Linked DNA regions of Homo sapiens: region 2 is linked to region 1. Evidence: promoter capture Hi-C in human tissues and cell types (Jung and others, 2019). All regions are on one chromosome and are shown on one strand. Each heading gives the region's core, a stretch centred on a gene start or on the middle of the fragment in contact. The rest is flanking DNA. Distances are from core to core; before and after follow the strand shown.

The links. Contacts are between HindIII fragments. The study calls those that stand out against the background at their distance.
Region 2: a contact is called between a fragment that was not itself captured here and the fragment with the promoter of SERP2 in region 1, in 3 of the 25 tissues and cell types used here (H1 embryonic stem cells, dorsolateral prefrontal cortex and mesendoderm cells).

What each region holds. Positions count from the first base shown.
Region 1 is chr13:44,372,163-44,375,958 of GRCh38, reverse strand. It overlaps SERP2 (stress associated endoplasmic reticulum protein family member 2), which reads right to left and starts at 2,135. Exons shown (of 3, transcript NM_001010897.3): 1 at 1,850-2,135. The coding sequence starts at 1,933. It overlaps LOC105370297 (a long non-coding RNA gene), which reads left to right and starts at 2,393. Exons shown (of 2, transcript XR_001749858.3): 1 at 2,393-2,562; 2 at 2,762-3,796. The HindIII fragment of the contact is 4,304 bases long and covers 1-3,211 here.
Region 2 is chr13:43,883,497-43,887,813 of GRCh38, reverse strand. LACC1 (laccase domain containing 1) reads right to left here. Exons shown (of 7, transcript NM_153218.4): 4 at 3,878-4,043. Among named protein-coding and RNA genes, the nearest start is that of LACC1, 5.8 kb to the right of the region's middle. The HindIII fragment of the contact is 5,982 bases long and covers 1-4,317 here.

The DNA of each region.
Region 1 (3,796 bases), core at 886-3,385:
ATTGAGTTGAATGGCAGGTGACTGGTACCTTTTCTAGGTATTTAAACAATGTTTTCCCAATTTTTCCATTTTCTTCTTTTATTTTGGAGCTAATAATTTTTGTTTTGGGTCCCAAACATTTTCTAGTTTTCTTGAAGAACTTGAGGTGGCAGACACTGAGTCTACAGAACCTAATAGATACAACAGCCTTAGAAATTAGTTCTTGTTTTCTTCTTACTTTTGTAATCAGATAAGCTGTCAACTGAGATCTGACAACTGAACTCCGGTTTTTTAGTTCATGAAAAAGAGCCACATGACTAGTTATTTTTCACTGTGTCAGTTAGCAGGTCTGATCCCTTGAGAAGGAAGAATTGATCTCTTAGGGATATAAAACCCTGCATGCCTTAACATCAATTATAAGTTGCTTCTCAATGTCAACCCGGGCAGCCATTTTTTTTTCCTCAGTAAAAATAGGGAAAACATAAATCAATGTGACAAAATGGTTCCAATTTGATGGCATCTTGGCATTTTGCTGCCTAATCACAACTGAGTGATATAATTCCTAAATGAGAGAATTTTAAGGATTACTTAGGTCTTGTGTATAAAGCTCTGAGTAGAGTTGAGTTATGCTTAGACTTGTGTATAAAGCTCTGAGTAGAGTTGAGTTTGGTCCTAGAGTTTCTCTGCCGTAATACTGCTTGGTTTTGCAAGAATTCTGGTGTGATGATTACAGATCTAGCTTTTTGCTTAGTTAATCAAACCAATATAGTTTCTTTGGCTAAAAGGAATTGATTCATCAAATCTGCAAGCTTTCCCAGCCAAACTCCAGGCTTCAGCTGGATTTCCACTTAACTGTACGGGGTAACAGATCCCAGGCGCCTTTGCTCATATACTTGGAGACCAACTTCGCCAAACTACCCATGCGACTCATGCCTCTGAATGTCCAAAGTCACAGGCCTCGCATTTTCTGTTGATGATAATCTGCTTTGCTAAAAGAAACTCCTGAGTGTAAGGCACAGGTTTTACTTAAAAGTCCAGTTGCAAAGCTTGAATTTACAGTTCTAGGGACACCGAATGCCTGACAATAAACTGGTCTCTAAAGTTATACCATGAGAATGAGTCTGAATTCACCAAGTGGAAAGAATAGGAATGCTGCCCTTAGACTTTAGCCTAGGGGCTGAGGGAGGTCTCGCTGGAAGAGAGGTAAAAGAGAAAAAAGAGGCTGGAGGGAATGTGGGTCCAAATCTCACTCCCCATTTTGAGCTCTTTCCACACCTCCAGTGAAACCGTCACAAAGGGGCTGGAAAGAAAACTTGATCCTGGTGCAAGTCTGTTGGGGAGGGAAGACAGGTGGAGTCCGGGAGGAGATGACAAGTGGCCTCCATTTAGCCATTGATTCATTCATTCATTCAACAAACGTTCTAGAACATACTAGGTTCCAGGCTCTGTGTCATGCAACGTTCTAGAACATACTAGGTTCCAGGCTCTGTGTCATGCAGTTGACTTAACTGGCCCCTAAGGATGAGGCTTTCCGTCTTTCTCCGGGACAAGGCCCAGCTGTCTCCCGGGCAGGGGGACAGGGGGTGCGGGTCGGGGAGGAGGGCTCCTCTGCGCCTCCCTGGTAGCCCAGGTAGCCACTCCCAGAGGGGCCACGACCAACCAGGGCCCTCTCCGCCCACGAGGACGCCAAGCAGACCGCGCCGCCCTGAACCCAGCTCTCAGCCCCCACTCTGCAGGACCCCGCAGAAGGGGCGGGCCGGGAGCCGGGAGGCCGGACCCTGCGCCGCTACCCGCCCGGCCCCGCCCCCACCTTCCGCCCCACCCCGCCGGGCTGCAGGGCTCTGCCTGGCCGGCGCCGACCCCGCCTTACCAGGGTTTTGGCTACGTTCCCCCTCTGGGTGATGTTTTTGCTGTGCTTCTCGTTAGCCATCCGGATCCGCTGTTTGGCCACCATGGCTTGTGCGCTCTGAAATGCTCCCACCTGCAAGGATTCCCCCTGCGTTAGCTCCTGCGACAGGGCCGAGCGCGTCCCGCCGAGGCCCCCGCGGCCCACCCGGGCGCTGCAGGTGGCAAGGCGTGGCCCCGAGCCCTGCGCACCCCGCTCCCCGAGCCCCGGCTAGCCGACTCCAGAGAGAGGCCGCAGCCCGGACGGAAGTAATCTCTCATCTCAGGAAACCCTTTCCGACTTCCTCGCCATCCTTCCGGTCCCCGCAGCCACCTACCCCGCGCGGCCACCGAGGCAGGCGCGACCGCACGTCCTCCCGCGCCGAGCGGCCGGAGCGCAGCGCGCAGAGCCGGGGCCCTGCAGTGTCGCGGTCCTGTAGCCGAATGCTGCGGGGCCGAAGGTTCGGGCGACCACGGCGTTTGTGAGCGCGTCGGGGACGGGGACGCGGCCCCTCCTGTGTTTGTCGGCCGGTGACCCACCCCAGCCCCGGGGAAGGGATGAGGGCGGCCGCGCTTCAGGCCGGGCCGCGCGGTCTCCCCTGCACCGCCGCCCCCTGGACGAGGGCTGGACCCAAGGCGGTGGTCAGGGACCTCAGAACACAAGTAGAACCAGTCCAGGCCCGGGCCCGCGCTGCCCGGGTATGGTCCACCAAACGAGCCTTCTCTTTAAGGGTCTCGAGAAGGGCCCCACGCTGGGGGACCCCACTGCAGAACTTTTCGTGAGGGCTGCAAGGAGGGCCGCGTTGTAAAATAAAGAGGAGACACGAAGCGGCATCCCCTGAGGGTTGGGGATCGGGCCGTGAGGATGGAGTTGGGACAGGCCTTTTTGCTTTGGTAGTTGTAGGGGTTGCATTGGAAGATGGGCCAGCGGCAGAGCGGAGCATGCAGGAAAGAGGAAGAGGCCTTGGACCTGCAGCCCAGGTCGGATTTGGTGGTTACTGTCTAAATCTGAAGCTTTGGCCTGCCTTGACTCCCCACCCACCCAGGGCAGCTTGGACCTCTCTCTAGCCACCCTTGTCCCGAGGGGTCTGAGTGTCTCCCAGACTAAACTGGGCATTTTCTGCAGTGGAAGGATAAAAATGGAAGCGTTTACGCGCCTCCCAGACACTGGTATTAGGGCTCAAGAGCTCTACAGATTGCCTGGGGAGGTAGGGGTGGAAGGGGTTCAGTTCCTCACTTGGAGTTAGCTCTTAGAAGCTCAGAAGAGTGGAGGCGAAGAGGGGACATTCAGCCTGGGAGATCTGGGGCAGCGGGAAGTGGGGATACCGGGTCGGGGTGAAGGCAAGCAGCAGCACCCCCAGCATGGGGAAGAAGGCCTGAGGCTGTCTCTGGCCACTGCATCTCTAGGCCTTCTCTTGGAGCGGGAGGTGGCTGGGTTTCCAGGGAATTTTGTGTGAGTAAAATTTTCCCATGTCATTGGAGAGTTAGGAAGAGCTCCTCTTTTGGGGCCTTTTTCCAAGCGGGTCCCCCTCACCCCGCTACAGGCTTCTTGTCACTCAGGCTTCAATAAAGGCCATTCTGGGGGCTGCTTGCTGTAACCTAGAAGACAGAATTGCCTAGGATCATTAGTAGAGTCATTTTTTTTTTTTCCTACTCTACAGGCCAATTAATTTGAAACAAGCTTCTATGGTCTTTTAACTGTTAGCATCACCACTGTTGTAACAGGACCATAAACCCAGTCTGCCCCACTCTAGTCCCATGTTTTTAATAACTGTTGGCTCTTTTTTAGGGGTTTGGGTGGGGGGATTCCTACCTCAGTGATCCCTGCTGAGCCTGGCTGTTGTCTGTGGTCCAGAAGGTTCCTTTACCTGACTCACTCCTCTCAGATCATGTCCAAATACCAGGAGACTGACCCAGGTCCTCACCAGGTGAG
Region 2 (4,317 bases), core at 1,050-3,549, 490 kb after region 1:
CCTCAACAACACTTATTTTCTGAGGTTTTAAAATATTAGCCATCCTAATGGATGTGGGGTGATATTTCACTGTGGTTTTGATTTGCGTTTCTCTAACTTCTAATCCATGAACACAGAATTTCTCTGCATTTATTTGTGTCTTCTTTAATGTCCTTCAGCAATGTTTTGCAGTTTTCATCTCTCCCTTTTTACAAAAATATATCTATTATATTTCAATTAACAGCCTCTTTTTACTCCCTTCCCACTTGCCCAGACTATCGTTCCCTTGCCATCTTTGTCTTATCTGCCTTGCATCTTACAGTGTTCTAAGATAAAACCATCTTCTTTACTTATGCTACCTTCTTGTTGCCAAAGACAGAAAGCTAAGAATATTGCATTTTTCCTTTATTCCCTATATCTGGGTTTGATTCAGCTGATATGGTTGGCCAATAATGAGTACCCTTACACCTTCCTTAAGCACTCCATACTCATACCCTTCAAAAGGTAGGCACTCAGGTGAAGGGATCAATTTTTACAGATAAAAGGAGATGATGAAAGCAAGAAGGACTTAGGTGACAGGTTCAGCCTCTACAGGTAACCCACTGAATATGTGGTTATGGGAAGTACAGAATGAAGACATCAAGTTTCTATCTGTAAGTGGGTAGGATATCAATAATTAAAACAGGAAACCTAACTGGCAGAGAAGACTTTAGGAAAAAAATGTTGAGTTTTTGACATAATGATTTTCAGGCACCTAGGAAGATGCAGACAGTGATGTTCAAAGGGAAGCAACTAGATATAGGCATTTTGAGTTAAAGAGAGAAACTGTCAGGGCTTTTCTACAGATGAGAGTAGCTCTCTTCCTCAGTGAGCCTCCTTAGTTATCCTCTCACTTGTAGTTCATCCACCTCCTTTCTATTTGATTTTTCTATGCCTATCTATATATACATATCTAGTTAAAAGATCTTTATTAAATTAGTCCCATAGAAGAATTTTATTCTTTTTGATATCTGATAAAAGTAGTATACAATGTAGCTAATTATATTATATTTTAAAGTTAATTTATTTTTATTCTTCCAACTTTTTAGGTTCGGGGTACATATATGCAGGTTTGTTACATGGGTAAATTGCATGTCACTGGGGTTTCGTGTACAAACGATTTCATCACCCAAGTAGTGGACATAGTACCGAACAGACAGTTCTTCAGTCGTCACCCTCCTCCCACCCACCACCCTTAAGTAAGCCCCCATGTCCATTGTCCCTTTTTTTGTGTCCATGTGTACTCAATGTGTAGCTCCCACTTAAAGGATACATATGGTATCTGATTTTCTGTTCCTGCATTAATTCATTTAGGATGGCTTCCAGCTGCATCTATGTTGCTGTAAGGATATGATTTCATTCTTTTTTATGGCTTTATAGTATTCCATTATGTATATGTACCATATTTTCTTTATCCAGTCCACCACTGATGGGCATCTAAGTTGATTCCATGTCTTCATTATTGTGAAAAGTGCTGTGATGAACATACGTGTGCATGTGTCTTTATGGCAGAATAATTTATATTCCTTTGGGTATATACCCAGTAATGGGATTGCTGGGTTGAATGGTAGTTCTAATTTTAAGTTCTTTGAGAAATATACAAACTGCTTTCCACAGTGGCTGAACTAATTTACATTCCCACTAGCAGTGTGTAAGCATTTCCTTTTCTCCACAATCTCACCAACATCTGTTGTTTTTTGACTTTTTTTATAACAGCCATTCTGACTGGTATGAAATGGTATCTCATTGTAGTTGTGATTTGCATTTCTCTAATGATTAGTAATATCAAGCGTTTTTTCATATGCTTGTTGACCACGTGTAAGTCTTCTTTTGAGAAGCGTTTGTTCATGTCCTTTGCCCATTTTTTAATGGGATTGATTGTTATTTGTTTGTTGATTTAAGTTCCTTATAGAGTCTCGGTGTTAGACCTTTTCAGCTGCATAGTTTGCAAATATTTTCTCCAATTCTGTAGGTTTTCTGTTTACTCTGTTGATAGTTTCTTTTGCTGTGCAGAAGCTCCTTAGTTTAATTGGGTCCCACTTGACTATTTTTGTTTTTGTTTGCTCTTGAAGTCTTCACCATGAAATCTTTGCCAAGGCCTATGCCTATGTCCAGAATGGCATTTCCTAGGTTTCCTCCTAGGGTTTTAATAGTTTTAGGCTATATGTTTAAGTCTTTAACCCATGTTGAGTTAGTTTTTGTATATGGTGAAAGGAAGGGATCTAGTATCAATTTCCTACATATGGCTAGCCAGTTATGCCAGCACCATTTATGGAACAGGGATTCCTTTCCTCATTGCTTGTTATTGTCGACTTTGTCAAAGATCAGATGGTTGTAGGTGTGTGGCTTTATTTCTAGGTTCTCTATCCTGTTCTATTGGCCTATGTGTCAGTTTTGGTACCAGTACCATGCTGTTTTGGTAACTGTAACTTTGGAGTACAGCTTGAAGGGAGGCAATATGACTCCTCCAGCTTTATTCTTTTTGCTTAGGATAGCTTTGGCTATTTGGGCTCTTTTTTGGTTCCATGTGAATTTTAAAATAGTTTTTTCTAAATCTGTGAAAAATGACATTGGTAGTTTGATAGGAGTAGCATTGAATCTATAAATTGCTTTGGGCAGTGTGGCCATTTTAACAATATTGATTCTTCCTATCCATGAGCATGGAATGTTTTTCCATTTGTTTATATTATCTCTGCTTTCTTTCAGCAGTGTTTTGTACTTCTCATTGTAGAGACCTTTAATCTCCTTGGTTAAGGTAACTGTATTCCTAGGTATTTTATTCTTTCAAAATTAACTTATTAATGACTTGAAATTCACATTTATAACTTCATTTTGACTGCTTGATCTTGGATATGTTTAAACTAAATGTTTTCGAACCTAAGAAGTAAAAAAATAATATCCTCTTTTTATATCCAGGAGCCAAGACTCAAATTTTAAATAACTTTTTGACAATGTCATGTAGTAAACCTGACTTCTACTCATTCAATCCCATTATTTCAGCTAGGTCAAAATAAAAATATGCTACTTTCTTTTTTACCTATGAGCTAAAAAGCAAAGTAGCCATAGATTTACAAGTAGAAGGAAATTTTAAAGATCATCCCTCATTTCACACAAAATCACAGCTATGGGGTAATCTAAAATACTATTTTAAAATACCTTCAGAAAACAAAATTCCATATCCTTAACACAATATACCTTCTAAAAATACTTCTTTGCTCTCAGAGAATAGTTACAGTTAAATACATTAAGTGATGTAAACTAAAAACAGTTTTCAAAACATCTTGCTTTTTCCTACCTCCCTAGCTTTACACATGCAGCTCCATCTGGGTGAACACTTCTCTGCAACATGCCTAACATTCCTATTTCCTATGGCCTGGATTTCAAGGATTCTCAACCAGAGGCAGTACCACTCCCCTAGGGAGTGTTTTGAAAAGCTTGGAGGGTTTCGTTGTTGTTTGATTGGTTGGTTGGTTGGTCTTGGTTATTACAGTAACTAGAGGTGCTACTGTCATTAAGGATTTCAGGGGCTAAAGACACTTAATCTGCAATGTGGGATTATCCTGCCCAAAATGTTAATAGCACCCTTGCTAAGGAACACTGTTACCCAGCCAAAACCAACAAATTCCTCAGGAATCAACCTAGGTGCCACCTCCTTTGGGAATTCTACTATAATTCATATAATTTGATGCAGATACTCCTCTTAGCTGTCCCTATAATAAAACTATGCCGCCTCTCCCATCATTACACTTACCACAGTGTAATGTAATTAACTGTTTGCCATGTCCATCAGAAAGAAATTACAATTTTTCCTGCACAACAAAATGAGTAAAATTCTAAATGTTTAATTAAGTATACTTACCAGCGTGAGCAACCCCACATGCTTTTTTGACTGGATCTGCAAAAACTATCGGTATACAGTCTGCACCAAGAGCTGCTATTGTGACTCCTCTCTGATTTGTGGTTATTCCATCATAAGAGTCAGGCTCCTTTCTTCCCATAATCCAGATGTCATTGGAATGATGAGTCTAATACCAAAAATGTGCAACAAAAATGTTTTGGAAATAGTATTTCTTATACCATAAGCTTTCTCGAAGGTACTCATTGTAGTATAAAATTATATAACCAGTTTAAGATTACTAGCATTCATTAAATATATCACTTTTATATATGGGAAAACACAAAATTTACTTATAATTTAACTATTTAAGATTTTAGATTATAATCTCTGATAGTTTATGCAAAGAAAAGCAGAGTTTAACATTATAAAATTCAATATAGTGAATAATGAACATCTTTCCA